Regions from separate parts of the Homo sapiens genome. Here all the other regions are linked to region 3. The links are contacts of gene promoters, found by promoter capture Hi-C in blood cells and fetal thymus (Javierre and others, 2016). All regions are on one chromosome and are shown on one strand. The core of a region is centred on a gene start or on the middle of the fragment in contact, and the rest is flanking DNA. Distances in the headings are between cores, read along the strand shown. Region 1 has its middle 64 kb from the start of C1orf220. Region 2 overlaps LOC105371632 (a long non-coding RNA gene). Region 3 holds the start of ANGPTL1 (angiopoietin like 1). Region 4 overlaps LOC105371632 (a long non-coding RNA gene).

Region 1 (3,246 bases), core at 394-2,893, 260 kb before region 3:
ACCCCTACAGCTTGTTCATGCTTAACTTTTCAGTTAGGTAGTGAGTCCTGTATCTTGCCATTTTTCATTTTCTCAGTCATCCTTCCTGTGTGTGTAGAATAATCTGTAGACAAAAGCTCAAGGAAGAGAGAATCCAACCTAATGGAAACACAACGAAACATTGTGTCATTTACTACCCTTCCCCTCCAATCTCCTCTCCAGGCTTTTATATGTCTTGAGGGTTAGTTTTTATATAAAACTATTAAAATGTATGCTTAATATGTTATATACATCTATACTATGTTAAAAAAAAATGTGAAGAGATTCCTCTCCCTCCACTTCTACCTACCTGCCTGGCCCCCACCACAAATCCCTTGGGTTGGCAGGGTTGGCAGCAGAGGCCTGATCTGGAGGCCAGGTTGAACCACCCCCGAGAGTGAAAACCCACAACAAGAAAGCATCTACAGGCCGGGCGCAGTGGCTCACGCCTGTAATCCCAGCACTTTGGGAGGCTGAGGCGGGCAGATCATGAGGTCAGGAGATTGAGACCATCCTGGCTAACACGGTGAAACCCTATCTCTACTAAAAATACAAAAAAAAAAAAAAAAAATTAGCTGGGTGTGGTGGGCACCTGTAGTCCCAGCTACTCGGGAGGCTGAGGCAGGAGAATGGTGTGAACCCGGGAGCGGAGCTTGCAGTGAGTCGAGATCGCGCCATTGTACTCCAGCCTGGCGACAGAGCAAGACTCTGTCTCAAAAAAAAAAAAAAAAAAAAAAAAAAGCATCTACACAGCATTATTCTGTGCAAAACACAGCCCACAGCAGGTTTCCAGTTGTCAGAACTGACTCCCCAGTGTGAGCTCCTCCACTCCTCACCTGTCATTAAGGGCGTCATTTCCATAGAGAACGTTCTTGAAAATCAGCCCTTCTATGAAGCTTCTTTCCAACATACCCCTCCCTGTTCTTTCCCTTCCACCTGGCAACAGAAGACATTTTCTCTTCTCTTTGAGCACACTGGGACTACATGCAGCTCCTGGGGAAATTCTCCAAAGAAACAGATTCTTGCTTTTAACTCCTGACCTACTCACACAACAGAGCCCACAGCAGGAAGGCCCCATTCTCGGCCTAGTGAGCTGAGGTGTTGCCACCCACTAGGCACAGCTGCTCTGCTAATTTTAGACCTCTCTGAGAAGTCACTTGACTTCAAGGCACTTGGAGACACACATCACACCCTGTCTCAGGAGGTGGTCTGGGGTGGGGCTCACTCTGCTTTCAACACCCATAACACCTTGTAACCTACAAAAGTGACTTTTTTTTGGAGGTTCTCCTCAATAAATGATAAAAAATAAATGACAACACTCAAAATGAGCTGTGAAACTGAAATTTGTTTCCACCTGGTCTAGCCCTGAAGCCTTAGGTGCCTTATTCAGCTGCCTGATCTTTACCAGGCACCACCTCATATTCCACACATCCACAGCTTAACCCTGGTGAGTGCCGCCTGGGGCAATTTTAGTCACCCAAGCTAGGACCCTCAGGACAACCCTGACTACCTTCCATCTCTCTCCAGTCACTAAATCTTAAACTGAAAACTATTTTGTCTCCTAAATAATGTTTGCAAACTTCCCCTCTATTCTGGCACCCTCATCCCATTTCAGGTTCTCTTCAGCGTCTCCCTGCACACTGCAGCAGTTTGCCCACAGTCACCCCGCCTTCTGTCTCATCCTCAAAGTCTAGCATCTATGGTGATCTTTCTAAAACCATGTCTATATCTCACTTAAACCCCTTCAAGGCATCCTGTCAGGTTCTCCAGCCTATCTGCTCATTAGAATCACCTGGGCCCTTAAAAAAAAAAAAAATCAGTTCCTGCTTCCATTCCCAGAGATTCTGATTTAAGTGGACTGGATGGGAGAAAGAAACCATATTTCTTTTTAAAATTTCCCAGGAAATCCTAATGTGCAAACATGGTTGAGAACCCCTGACCTGCAGGATAAAGTCCAGGCTCCTTCCCATGGCACCCAAGATGCTCCTGACTGGGCCCCTGGCCACCCTCTCCGGCCAGCCTCACTCCTGGCCAGTCCATGCCTTTATGTGCCAGCAACACTGAACTGCTTGCAGCTCCCAGCATTGCTTATGCTGTTCTCGCTGTCTGAAGTGCCCTCCCTACTGGTCCAACCAACATCACCTTCTACAGAAAGCCATTCCTGACTACTTTCCCTCACCTCCAGGTGCCCCGTGAAACTTTGGATGTGTCTCTATTACCGAACATTCACATGATTTTATGATACCCATCTTTCTTAAACACAAGGGAGACATTTATTTATACAGGGATAGTTCACAGAGCCCAAAGCTGCTGAAACTATAGCTGGGCCTCTCAAGCACTGGAACCCTGAATTAGAAAGCTTTCAGATACCAAGGTGCTTTCTTTCAGTCATTTTCTCTCACTGGGTTACGTGGCTTCTGGTGTCTGTTCATTGCTTTTGGATCTCCTTGGCAGACAACATTCTCTACCTCTGTGTACCTGGGTGGGCCAAAAATGGGCACTTCACAAAGGCTGAGTCAACTCCTGAAGGCCGTGTTCTCACTTCCAGCAATACTGACCAACATCCTGGCTGTCAATTCTAAAGTCCCTGAAGAGAGAATCTTATTGGCCCAGGGGTTCACCCTTGTCCATCAGCTGTGGCCAAATAGGGTTGCTGCGTAAGAGGCAAGTCTTGAAAAAATAGAGAGGAGTCATAGGATTAGCAGACTACCTAAAAGGTGACAACTATGCCCCAAGAGTCAAGGAATTCTTGAACTATGTGATAACCATGTATAGGTCAGCAATAGAGACCAAGTGCTGTGTGAGCCCAGAGGAGTAAACCATAGTAGTCTTCGATGTCAGGGAAGTCCTCACAAGAAAGTTGGCACTGGGCCAGGCATAAGAGAAAATAAAGGGCAAATGGCAATATCAGCAAGATACCTAAAAATTAGGCTTTTATGTGAAAGTACAAGAAATGGACTGAAATGGTGGCAAGATACCGGGATCAGCAGATGGGCCTAAGTTTGGTTCAGACTGTGAGAGTCTTTAAGTGACAGAATAAAAGTCTGGTCTTCACTGCTCAAGAGGGGGTTCCTCTCAGAGGACCTCAATCACTCAAGTAAGGAGAAGGGGGAGTCAGGAGACCCAGGGAGAGGCCCTTTGGGTCTGAGTTAAAGCAATGAGTCACTTCTTACTACTTAACAATGCAAAAAGCACTTTGCGGCCGGGCACTGTGGTTCAAGCCTGTAA
Region 2 (3,323 bases), core at 156-2,655, 290 kb before region 3:
AACTAACATGTCTTCTTAGAAAAAAGTAGAGCCCCAGTTGCCTGGATACAGTCAGGAATACATATCACTGGATCTGTGGGTGACCTGTAGTTACTTTGTCCCTATTTGAGTTTCCTGAATGTTAAGAGGAAAATGGAGCAGAGCTAACAAATACCTCATACCTGCTTGGGCTTTCTCCGTCAGTCCTCTGTGTGTGCATCACACACCCACACATATGCAAAATAGCTCAGTGTAAAAACCCTGCAGTAAACATCAATCCTTGTAGATTCCCGGGGAGTTCTAGTTGGATTTGCTAGCAAAGCAACTTCCATAAAGACTATAAATAGCAGGCATGTGCCTCTGTAAGCAGTGCAGCTATTTTTTTTTAAATAGGGGATTCTCATGTTACAAGGACATCACAGATTACTGAATAATTTATTTAATGGTAGATTATATGGGCTTCACTCTTTGCCAGTGAGCTCATACCCAAATGTCTAAAGGAGATAAGGTGAGCAAAAGCTAGATGTCAGGCTTGGGTGAGCTGTTTATTTATTTTTATTAGATATGTATAACTATTGTAGCCATTTATATTTTACTTAATATTATCTCAGCTGCAAAGGTCATATATACAATAGTGTCACTACTTTATTACAGACATTTAGCTAACTTCTAACAATTCATATCGCACACAGCATGAGAAATACAGAATAGAATAATAAATAACTTTGGTTGCACTTGATTTTAACAAAGGACTGTGATATATAGGAGTATGTTTGTTCTCTATGAAAGTATAGGGAAATGAGGGGACAAAATTCAAAAAAAGGATGTTAGATTTGAAAATAGAGATAAGAAAAAATGATCTAAATCCATGTTTTTCTGTGAACTATTGTTATAATCTTTTCAATGACTTATAGTAAAAAAAAATTGCTTATAAGCTTACAGATCTTAGACATTTTACCTTTAGCTATATACAGTTCTCAGGTGTGCAGAGGTACCCTGGAAGACGGACATACTTTTCTGTCAAATGTAATTTTAATGAATATGAAATTTATTTAAAAAGGAAATTTAAATTTGGCAATAGCAAGATGTCAAAAGATTTGAACAGGCACATAACAGGAAATTCATGTGGCCAATTAACATAGTAAAAGATTCTTGGTTTTGTTTAATAATCAGGGAAATGCAAATTAAACTCACAGTGAAATGTTACTCACTACACAGCCACCTGATCAGTTGAAGTTTTAAAGTTTGACAATAACAAGTGCTGTTGAGGATGGAATATAGTGAGAACCGCTGCTGTTGGAAGTTTGTTTTTATTTATTTTTTGAGTCAGGGTCTTGCTCTGTCACCCACGCTGGAGTGCGGTGGCGCGATCATGGCTCACTGCAGCCTCCACCTTCCAAGTAGCTGGGACTACAGGAGTGGACCACCATACCCAGCTATTTTTTTTTCTTTTTTTTGTAGACATGGGGTCCCACTGTATTGTTCAAGCTGGCCTTGAATTCCTGGGCTCAAGCGATCCTCCCACCTCAGCCTCCCAAAGTGCTGAGATTACAGGTGTGATCACCGCACCCAGTCTGCTTTTGGGAGTTTAAATTGAAGCAAAGTTTTGGCAAATAGTTGCCATTCTCTACTAAGGTTAAAGATTCACACACCCTATTCACAAGTGGAGAAATTCTGATGTGGGAAAATGCCATCAAGGCAGGTGTACATGCATATGCTGTGGACCAGGATGTATACAAGAATGTGTAGAGAAGCAGTGTTTGTAATAGCCCCAAGCTGGAACCAAACCAAATGCTGGCCTGTCATAGAAAGCATAAGAATTAGAGCCACTTAACAACAGCATGGTTGGAGTTAATAAATATAATGTTGAAGAAAAGAAGCAAGACACAAATACTCAGAGTCAGGGTCCATTGATATAAAGCTTATAAACGGGCAAAGCTAAACTACATTGTTTAGGGATGCATATAGAGATAGTAAAACTCTAAAGAAAAGCAAGGAAATTGTTATAATAAAAGTGAGGATGGTGGTTACTTTTAGAGGAGAAAAAGAATTGTGACCGAGCTTACTCTGAGACTTCTGCACTCTGGAAATGTTCTATTTCTTGACCTGGCTGTGGTTTCATGGGTTTTTACTTCATCATCATTCACTGAACTGGATCTTTACTTCCATAGTTTGTGGATGTACGTTATGTTTCACGCACACATACATACACACACATGATGCTTTCTAGTCATACTACTAAATACTGAAAGATCAAAATCTAGAAAAAGAAACTCCCTAGTTCAATTTAGTACCTTTAAAAAATGAACTTTAAGTATTCAGTTCAGTTGAATGAACATTCAAAACAACAAGCCGAATCTATGCACCATTGTGCCTCAGAATTCTACAGTGTTGTGCTGGAAGGACAGCCAGAGGAAAGGAAGGAGCATCAGCTCCCAGGCAAGGGCTGCTTCCCAGCCAGCTCTGCTCCTCCACATCTCTTTCCCCAGGCAATTCTCTAGGCTTGGTTTCTCATCTGTAGAGGCCCAGACTGGATCTGCTCCTCTGAGAGTCTCCTAATATATTACTAAGAGTCATCTGTTGGAAGTTTGTCATTTTTAAAATATAAAATTCTTTTCATTTGGACAAGAATCTAAAGAATATAAGCATATTTGGGGTCCTCCCTATGTCCACGTTTGAGTGTACAGTGCCAGCCTTGCTCAGTGTTCACAATCACAATGCAACCTAGATGCGCTATTTTAATTGCCAGTTGTCAACTGTTAATTGCCAATCAGAAGAAAACGCAAGTGGCCTTAGTAGAGTATGTACTTGCCAAGTGAGCTCACAGAAGGCCCACAACCAGTGTTTCCATAGGAGTTTGAAGAGACGATGCCACGTGAGATTTAAGTCATGAGACAATGCAGGTGTAAGGCGTGCCCAGCTCAGAGAACCGACTCGGTGCTTGAGTTACCAAGCAAGGGGCAATTTGACTCCACAAAATCACACTATCTGTCTCATTCAATTAATGTTACCTTGAGTTTTATTGGTTTTATATTTGATTTGTCAAATCATGAACTTATTTTGATTTTATAGTTGTAGAAAACTTACAAGGGTTGTATACCCAATTTTATGTTTGTGTACATCCAACTAACAATCTTTATAAAAGTGGTTTATGTTAACACTGGAAATCATCCTTTTTTTTTTTTTTCTTGAGAAAGCAGTGCACATCACTCAAATTTCAGCCATGCTGAATTCTGTGACCTACAGACACTTCTGGGGTTTGTTTCTATTTTAGGGAGTTGAGCCCTTTCCAAAGCAGGCGGCCGGGGGCATCCCTGGTGCTGCCTGGGACTCCATCCTCTTTA
Region 3 (3,517 bases), core at 215-2,714:
ATTTCTTGTAAAATATGTGTTTAACAGAAATCCTGCCAGCATTTACAGTTTTAAATCTTTAAGGAAAGGACACAAAAGCAAAGTTGGAAAAAATTTTAGCTTTACCATTATTTGCTTGTTCAAGATTCTTAACCATTAATATCTTTAATTTTTACAAGGCTAAAGGAGCCCCAAATCTAACAAACTTAAGTGTCTTTGGTTTAAGGCATACTATTGGTAACGAGTAATTTTATCTTTAATAGTTTTTATAATGCATGTAAAAAAAGCTCCCAGATAGAATATTGAAGGAAACCTCTTATGTGTGCTTAACAAAATTATTTCTACCTAAAATATTACATATTTTTGGCCTTTTAGTCATGAATTTAATTACATCTTCTGGGTTCTTATTTTCTATTGTTAATACCACTTACATAATGCTTTTGTGTGTATATCAATAACTTAGCTTTTCCAAGTGATTCCATTTGTAGCAAGTTTAATTTCTGTCATCCAAATTAAATTACTATTACATGTAAGCCTGGAAAGCTATTTAAAATTTTGAGTTGGAACAAGAAATGCCATAGATTAATCTTAAATCTGTACAAGAATTTCTGCTTAATATTTGGTTATACTGTAATTGAGATTTTGTTGCAAAGACTTTCAACTATTTTTGTATCTTAGCTTTGTTTTATGACTACACTGAGAAATCCAACAGTTTATGTATATCTTCAGCACACACACTGTGGCTGCAGGAAGAGAAACTAATTGTGTTCACGACTATTTAGTTTGTATTCCTTTGTTTTTAATCATTGTGCTGTAAGCCTTATACATTTAATCTGTTACTTGTTAAAATTTCTTTCTACTGTCACTAAAGCACTTGTTTTCAGAAACCCAGCATGGCATGCATGTATCAGTCTGTAATCATATACACTAAACATCATTAAATTGAACCTCAAATAATGCATTAACCATTGCACAGTACTTAATGTTTTTATGTCAAGTTGCAAGATAAAACCTTTTTCAGATGAGATAAACTGTAGTATATTCCAAAGGTCTTTGTTTAGTAAAAGATTCTGAAATTTCTACTACAAATATAAAATAGTTATGCATTTGCTATACATAATATTTTTAAATAAAAGAAATATTAAATACCTTTTTGTGTCTGTTGATTCAGTGAATCCAGAAACTTGCTGCCCTTATTCTTGATTTTAAAAATCAGTGTAGAAGTTTGTTCATCTGTGACTTTAATGGCAGCTGCATTTTTGTTTTGGACCGTTGAATCCAAGCTGTAAGAAGGAACTTCTTTTTCCTTTTACAATACTAATCAATTGAATTTGACAAGCCACCTATGTAATTTTAAGTAGTATAGTGGAAGTTCTGGTCTGTGGGCCGTCTTTAATCCAGCAGAGAAAGCGTTGTGGCTTTGCTCTGTCTGCCACATGGAGAAATGCAGTAACCAGCTGCAGCTGACCCAGATTGTATATACAGTACCCCTGAATAGTGATTCCCTCTTTCTCAGTAGACTCAAGTTCAGCCCACATATTACATCACCAAAAATTGCTGGAGACTGGGGGCGGGAATCTCCTTAGGATTTCCTCTTTGTAGCCTTAAATAGGGGGGTGGGATCAGCAGGAGGTTGAATAGTTTTGAACAAGGAGAGATTGTGTGCAGGTTGAAGGAAGGGCACCATCTGGAAACAAACTATCATAGTTCAGCGGGCAATTATAAAACAAACATTTTAGTCTGCTGGCCAGAGATCTTTTAAGTTGAATACCGAAAAAAAAAATAGTGCTCCACTTCACTTAGAAGTAGTTGCAGGCTGATGAGTTTGGTTTTTGTTAACAAAGAACAAGAGCTAGACTTTGTCAGGAGGCAGCCACCTAAATAATGTAATAAATACTCTTTATAGCCTAGAAGAATTTGTAAACATTTTACTAAGTTGCTAATGAAGGTTTTAAACTTACAAGAAACTTGATGTTGTTGTAGTATGTTATGTCTTACTGTGTAATGTGTCTTAAGATAAAACAGCCTTTATATATAATTACCAAACATAAGTGAAATTCTTTCAGATGCTTAAGACTTTTAAATATTACATTCTGGTGTTACATAATGTCATATCCTCCTATTCTACAAAATGACCTCTCCTCTCTGTAAAAGGTCATTCTTGTTATTAATTGATGTGGTGTGGTTTAAAAACAAACATAACCCTGAACTGAGTAAAAAACAAGGAAGCTCTGACTCTATGCCAGCTATGTGAACTTAGACAAATCACTTTACCTGCCTCTGGCAAGGTTCTTCTGCTATGAAATAAGGTGGTGGAAGAAATGAATAAGTGTTGAGTACAACTATACTATTGTATTTCATTAATTGAAGAAATGTTAAATAACTCAGTAGCTGAAGAAACACAAACTTAGGCTTAAGTAACTTAGCTTAGCACTTAAGTACTAAGTAGTGGAACTGGGATTTGAATCTAATGCCAAAGCATTATGCCACACTCTCTGTCATTGATTACCTAGTTGCTGTAAGCTGCTTCTAGATAAAACTTTTGGGCTTTCTCTACATACCTGTGCTTTCCCTTCCTTATTGCTGTAGCTTGTGCTGTGTTTCTCTTTCTGTTAGGCCACACTGTTGATCCACATCCTTTATTTAAAGTCTGAGCTTATTTTCTACCTCTTTCACAGAATCATTTATTTGAATTCCTATGCCATATATAGGTATACCAGAGGTTGCAAACACAAGGGCCTAGAAAGGCAAATGCTCACAAGAAGAATGGAGCAGGTAATATAAATCAGTGAAGTAAATCAGTAGTAAGATACTGGAGGGAAATGAAGTTTATGGCAAGTTGGCATCCTTTTGGTTAATTTAAAGGGATCTGCCTGCACCTTCTCAGCTGTGCTTGTGGCCATGAAGGATTATGAGACAGTGTTGCCAGATCTTCCCATTATTCAGGAAAAAAGAGCCATTTAGATTTTTCCTGTAATACTTCCTGATTTTAAAAAACATTGGGACAGATGTGCTGCCAGCTTCTGGCCTCTGATTTGTATTATGTATCGTTTCTTGAGCATTCAGTAATTATGTTGTAGTCACTAATGGCTTAAATCTGGGAAAAATAAGAGATAATAAATTCTTTCTGAGCTTTTAAACTTTCAGCAGTTTGGAGCTTTCTAACTTGAGCACTTAGTAATATCACTAGCCAGGGTAGGAAATTGGAATGACAGGTATTTAGGGACAGATTATGGTTAGATATGTTAAATTGAAAATGAAAGTCAGGAGCTCAGTTATATGGAGAGATTTGAAAGTCACCAGCAATTAGGTAGTAGCTAAAGCTATGGAACTAAGATACTAGAGAAAGTACATGTAGAATGTAAAGGAAGGTTAATGACAGACCATGATACCAATTTCCAGGAAACCAGCTTACAAGAAACATGAGGAAAAAGAAGAATGGTGGGGGCTTAGGGGGAAGATACGAAAGTTCAAGGTAGGGAAAACCTGAGAACTAGACGAGAATGGTTACAATACTGCAGAGACATTACATAGGGAG
Region 4 (3,487 bases), core at 530-3,029, 320 kb before region 3:
TGTTTAAAGAGGTGGTTAGGGAAGGCCTCTCTGAGGTCAGGACATCTGAGCAGCGAAGGAGCCAGCGATGGGAAGCACCGGGGGCGGGGGTAGGACACTCCAGACGGAGCAAGTACAAAGGCCCTGGGGCAGGAAGGACCCTGATGTGCTGGATGAGGAGCAAGAGGGTGCCAGTATCGCTGAGCTGGAGAAGAGGAAGAAAAGTGGGAGAGGAAGATGAAGAAGTCACAGAGGTCAGGCCATGTGGGCCTTTTAGGCATGGCCAAATGCTTGGATTCTCTTCCAAGGAGAATGGGAAGTCATTGGAAGATCTTAAGTAGGGACATGATAAGACTGATTTATACTTTCCAATTATTACTGTGACTACTCTGTGGGGACCAGATTATAGGAAGATGATAATAAGGTGAGTGAAAAGAGTGGCCAGTCGTGGCATCCGCCTCCTTCCACAGAGATGAGTACAGGCTGAAGTCTTGTCCGTAAGATGCTTCTGTGGAAGTTACAGGGAGCTGACCCTGGCCTTGGAACTAACTGTGGTGGGATCAGAGAGGGGGGAAGCAGAGATGGTGCCAGCTTTGGCCCAAAGATCAGAAGCAGTAAGGACTCTGTGCCTCTGGCAAAAGGACAACTCCATGTTTTCTGTGCAAACATCCAAGTTACCATTTCCCCAGGCGACATTGCAGCTGTGGGGCCTGTGAACAGGACAACAGCTAACCATTCTGAGTTTAAAAAAATCAAGGACAGTACCCTCATGTTTATAATATAGGGGGCAAAGCAAAATCCATTGACAAGCATTTCCTTTAAAATACAGGGAAGGAAGATTCCATTGTCTACAAATTCTAATGGAAATTAATAAAGATGAGCAAATATCACAAACGTTGTCTTTATTCTGTGGTGTATTCTATGTGGTGTCCTGGTTATATGAGTATTTACAGAAGTTTTTCTAGCTTCTCTGTTGTCTCAACTCCCAACTGTCTGTTTTTCCCCATAAGGGTTTAAGTTCCTCAACCACGAATTGTCCTGCCACTGAAGTTTGCAGCCTAATCCCGTGCAGGGGACAGAGGGGAATTGTTTGGGTTGGAATGACTGGAAATCAGGGTGCCTGCTTGGGGAGGGGGTTGATGAATCTAAAACGACAGGTAGGGGTTAACTATGGAGGGGAGAAAGCCTTCATTTTAAAGTGGTGAGGTCCTGGTGTCCCTTGGCAGGCATTGCTGCCCTTTTGCACTGGTCTTCACCTTCTCCAGCCAGACATCCCAACACACAGAGTCCTCAGGGGGCCAGAGTCACCCTGTGTGGAAGTGGGAGAAATGCTCTCCTACAGGGGCCTCTAAAAAGTGCTGCTGCATGTGAGTGCATGGGTGTGCGTGAGTGCATTAAGCAATGTTTAGTGCAATCGTACATCCAGATTTTACTTACAACTCCCTCTGTCCTTAGGCATAGTAAATTAGGGCCAGGTATCTGTTTGGCTCTATTAACCAAGGGCCAAGTTAATGCCAAGCACTGGCCTTTCCTGGGGCTGATCCTCCTCATGAGGTCCAGCCCGCCCTGTCTCTTAAGACAAGTTCTTTCTCAGGTCAGGCAGCATCTCCGGCTCTCAGTAAAGAGACTTTGGGTGGCTCAATCCCACCAGTTCGTCTGGCACATCTAGACACACGAACCCCTCCCATCCCCACCCCAGCTACCTAAAGCAAGGGGGTGATATGAGCCAATCTGTGTTTACATAAAATTAGATGGCAGCCAAGGAGAGAATGATTAGCCTGCAGCAGAATCTCCTAGACAGCTGGTTGGAGGTAAAGGTTGCTGTGCCCTACCTGGAAATTCTCATTCACTAGGCCAGGGCAGGGCCTGAGAATTTGCATTTTAAGCATGTGTACTTGCCCCCTCACCTCATGATTCTGACAGTTGGCAGACCTTATCAAACACTGGACTAGAGAAAAGCTAAGCTGGTGGCCAGATCAGTATGGAGCTTGGATTGTGGGTGAGAGTTGGCAAAGGCCTGACTGAAGCAGGCACCACCATAGAGAGGAAGAGAAACTGGATTCCAGGGAGAGAACAGGGAGCAAGGATGGGCCCTGGCTGGGTGGGGAGAAAAGGAGGAGGGCAGGGAAGAGGCTGCCGCCAGGGCGGCCTCCTGACCAGCACCTGCTTTTCTGGGAGCTGGCATCCACGGGATCTGCAGCTCTTCACACATGTAGGGGAGAGGTCCTGGGCTCCCTCTCCTCCTGCTGGCACCAGCTGGCCCTGCTCACCTGATAGCAGCTCTCAGCCTGGGGACAAGCCAGGGCCACTCCCTGGGAATGCTCAGGTTATAGATGCACCCTAGTCCCAAACACAGCCTGTCCATGGCCCCAGCTGATAAAGTTACCAAATGTCAGGTGTGACAGATTTTCCTGGAGGAGGACAGAGAGTGGAAATGATGGCTGATCCCAAAGGGTTGCCTTTTAAACCCCAAACCCATTTAGTGGTAACTACACCTGACATTTCCAGAGCCCTCCCATTTAGGGAATTTAAAAATGCCTGGACTCCACATGGACATTTTTCTTCTTCTTCTTGCGGGTTTTTTGTTTGTTTGTTTTGTTTTGTTTTGTTTTGTTTTGTTTTGTTTTTGGATACAGAATCTCACTGTCACTCCGTCACCCAGGCTGGAGTGCAGTGGTGTGATCACGGATCACTGCAGCCTCAACCTTCCAGGCTCAAGTGGAGGTCTTCCCGAGTAGCTAGGACTACAGGCACACACCACCACTCCTGGCTAATTTTTGTATTTTTTGTGGAGATGGGGTTTCACCATGTTGTCCTGGCTGTTCTTGAACTCCTGGGCTCAAGCGATGCTCACACCTGTAATCTTAGCACTTTGGGAGTGCTAGGAGACTTTGCCCAGGAGACAGCAAAGAGCCAGCAGACAAATTCCTTTTCCTTCCTCTCCTGCTCTGAGGTGTGGTGGGTGGAAGAGAGGCACCTGGCCTCTTCTTCTTTTAAAATGATTTACACAATGGACTGTCATGTACCATGTAGAAGTTATTTTTCTTTTTTATCTATTTGTTATTAAGTAGGGGTAGCATTAATCTTTTTATAGATGTGAATAATTTCTGGATATAAATGGCTCCCTACTTTTAGAGATTTTGATTTGAAATTGCTATTATCTTACAAAGTTGTCCCTTTTGTATTAAAGAAGTCCATGTCATTGTGAGTAGCACCCCTGGGTGCCGAGACCAGCTCAGTCAGGGAGACCCTAAACCAGCGGCGCTAGAGGAATTAAAGACACACACAGAAATATAGAGGTGTGAAGTGGGAAATCAGGGGTCTCACAGCCTTCAGAGCTGAGAGCCCCAAACAGAGATTTACCCACGTATTTATTAACAGCAAGCCAGTCATTAGCATTGTTTCTATAGATATTAAATTAACTAGAAGTATCCCTTATGGGAAAAGAAGGGATGGGCTGAATTAAAGGAATAGGTTGGGCTAGTTAACTGCAGCAGGAGTATGTCCT

What was found. The method cuts DNA at HindIII sites, captures the fragments that hold promoters and counts their contacts. A CHiCAGO score of 5 or more calls a contact.
Region 1: a contact is called between a fragment that was not itself captured here and the fragment with the promoter of ANGPTL1 in region 3, in 2 of 17 cell types (total B cells and naive B cells). The highest score is 6.3, in total B cells.
Region 2: a contact is called between a fragment that was not itself captured here and the fragment with the promoter of ANGPTL1 in region 3, in 2 of 17 cell types (total B cells and naive B cells). The highest score is 9.1, in total B cells.
Region 4: a contact is called between a fragment that was not itself captured here and the fragment with the promoter of ANGPTL1 in region 3, in 1 of 17 cell types (naive B cells). The highest score is 8.3, in naive B cells.

The regions. Positions count from the first base shown.
Region 1 is chr1:178,605,033-178,608,278 of GRCh38, forward strand. No RefSeq gene overlaps it. Among named protein-coding and RNA genes, the nearest start is that of C1orf220, 64 kb to the left of the region's middle. RefSeq lists enhancers at 889-1,038, 1,049-1,188. The HindIII fragment of the contact is 1,463 bases long and covers 913-2,375 here.
Region 2 is chr1:178,575,882-178,579,204 of GRCh38, forward strand. LOC105371632 (a long non-coding RNA gene) reads right to left here. Exons shown (of 4, transcript XR_922315.3): 1 at 1-3,323. Among named protein-coding and RNA genes, the nearest start is that of C1orf220, 35 kb to the left of the region's middle. The HindIII fragment of the contact is 986 bases long and covers 913-1,898 here.
Region 3 is chr1:178,869,613-178,873,129 of GRCh38, forward strand. It overlaps ANGPTL1 (angiopoietin like 1), which reads right to left and starts at 1,465. Exons shown (of 6, transcript NM_004673.4): 1 at 1,129-1,465. The region is part of intron 8 of RALGPS2 (Ral GEF with PH domain and SH3 binding motif 2); the gene reads left to right. The HindIII fragment of the contact is 10,209 bases long and covers 1-3,517 here.
Region 4 is chr1:178,550,875-178,554,361 of GRCh38, forward strand. LOC105371632 (a long non-coding RNA gene) reads right to left here. Exons shown (of 4, transcript XR_922315.3): 4 at 3,276-3,487. Among named protein-coding and RNA genes, the nearest start is that of C1orf220, 9.8 kb to the left of the region's middle. The HindIII fragment of the contact is 8,210 bases long and covers 1-3,487 here.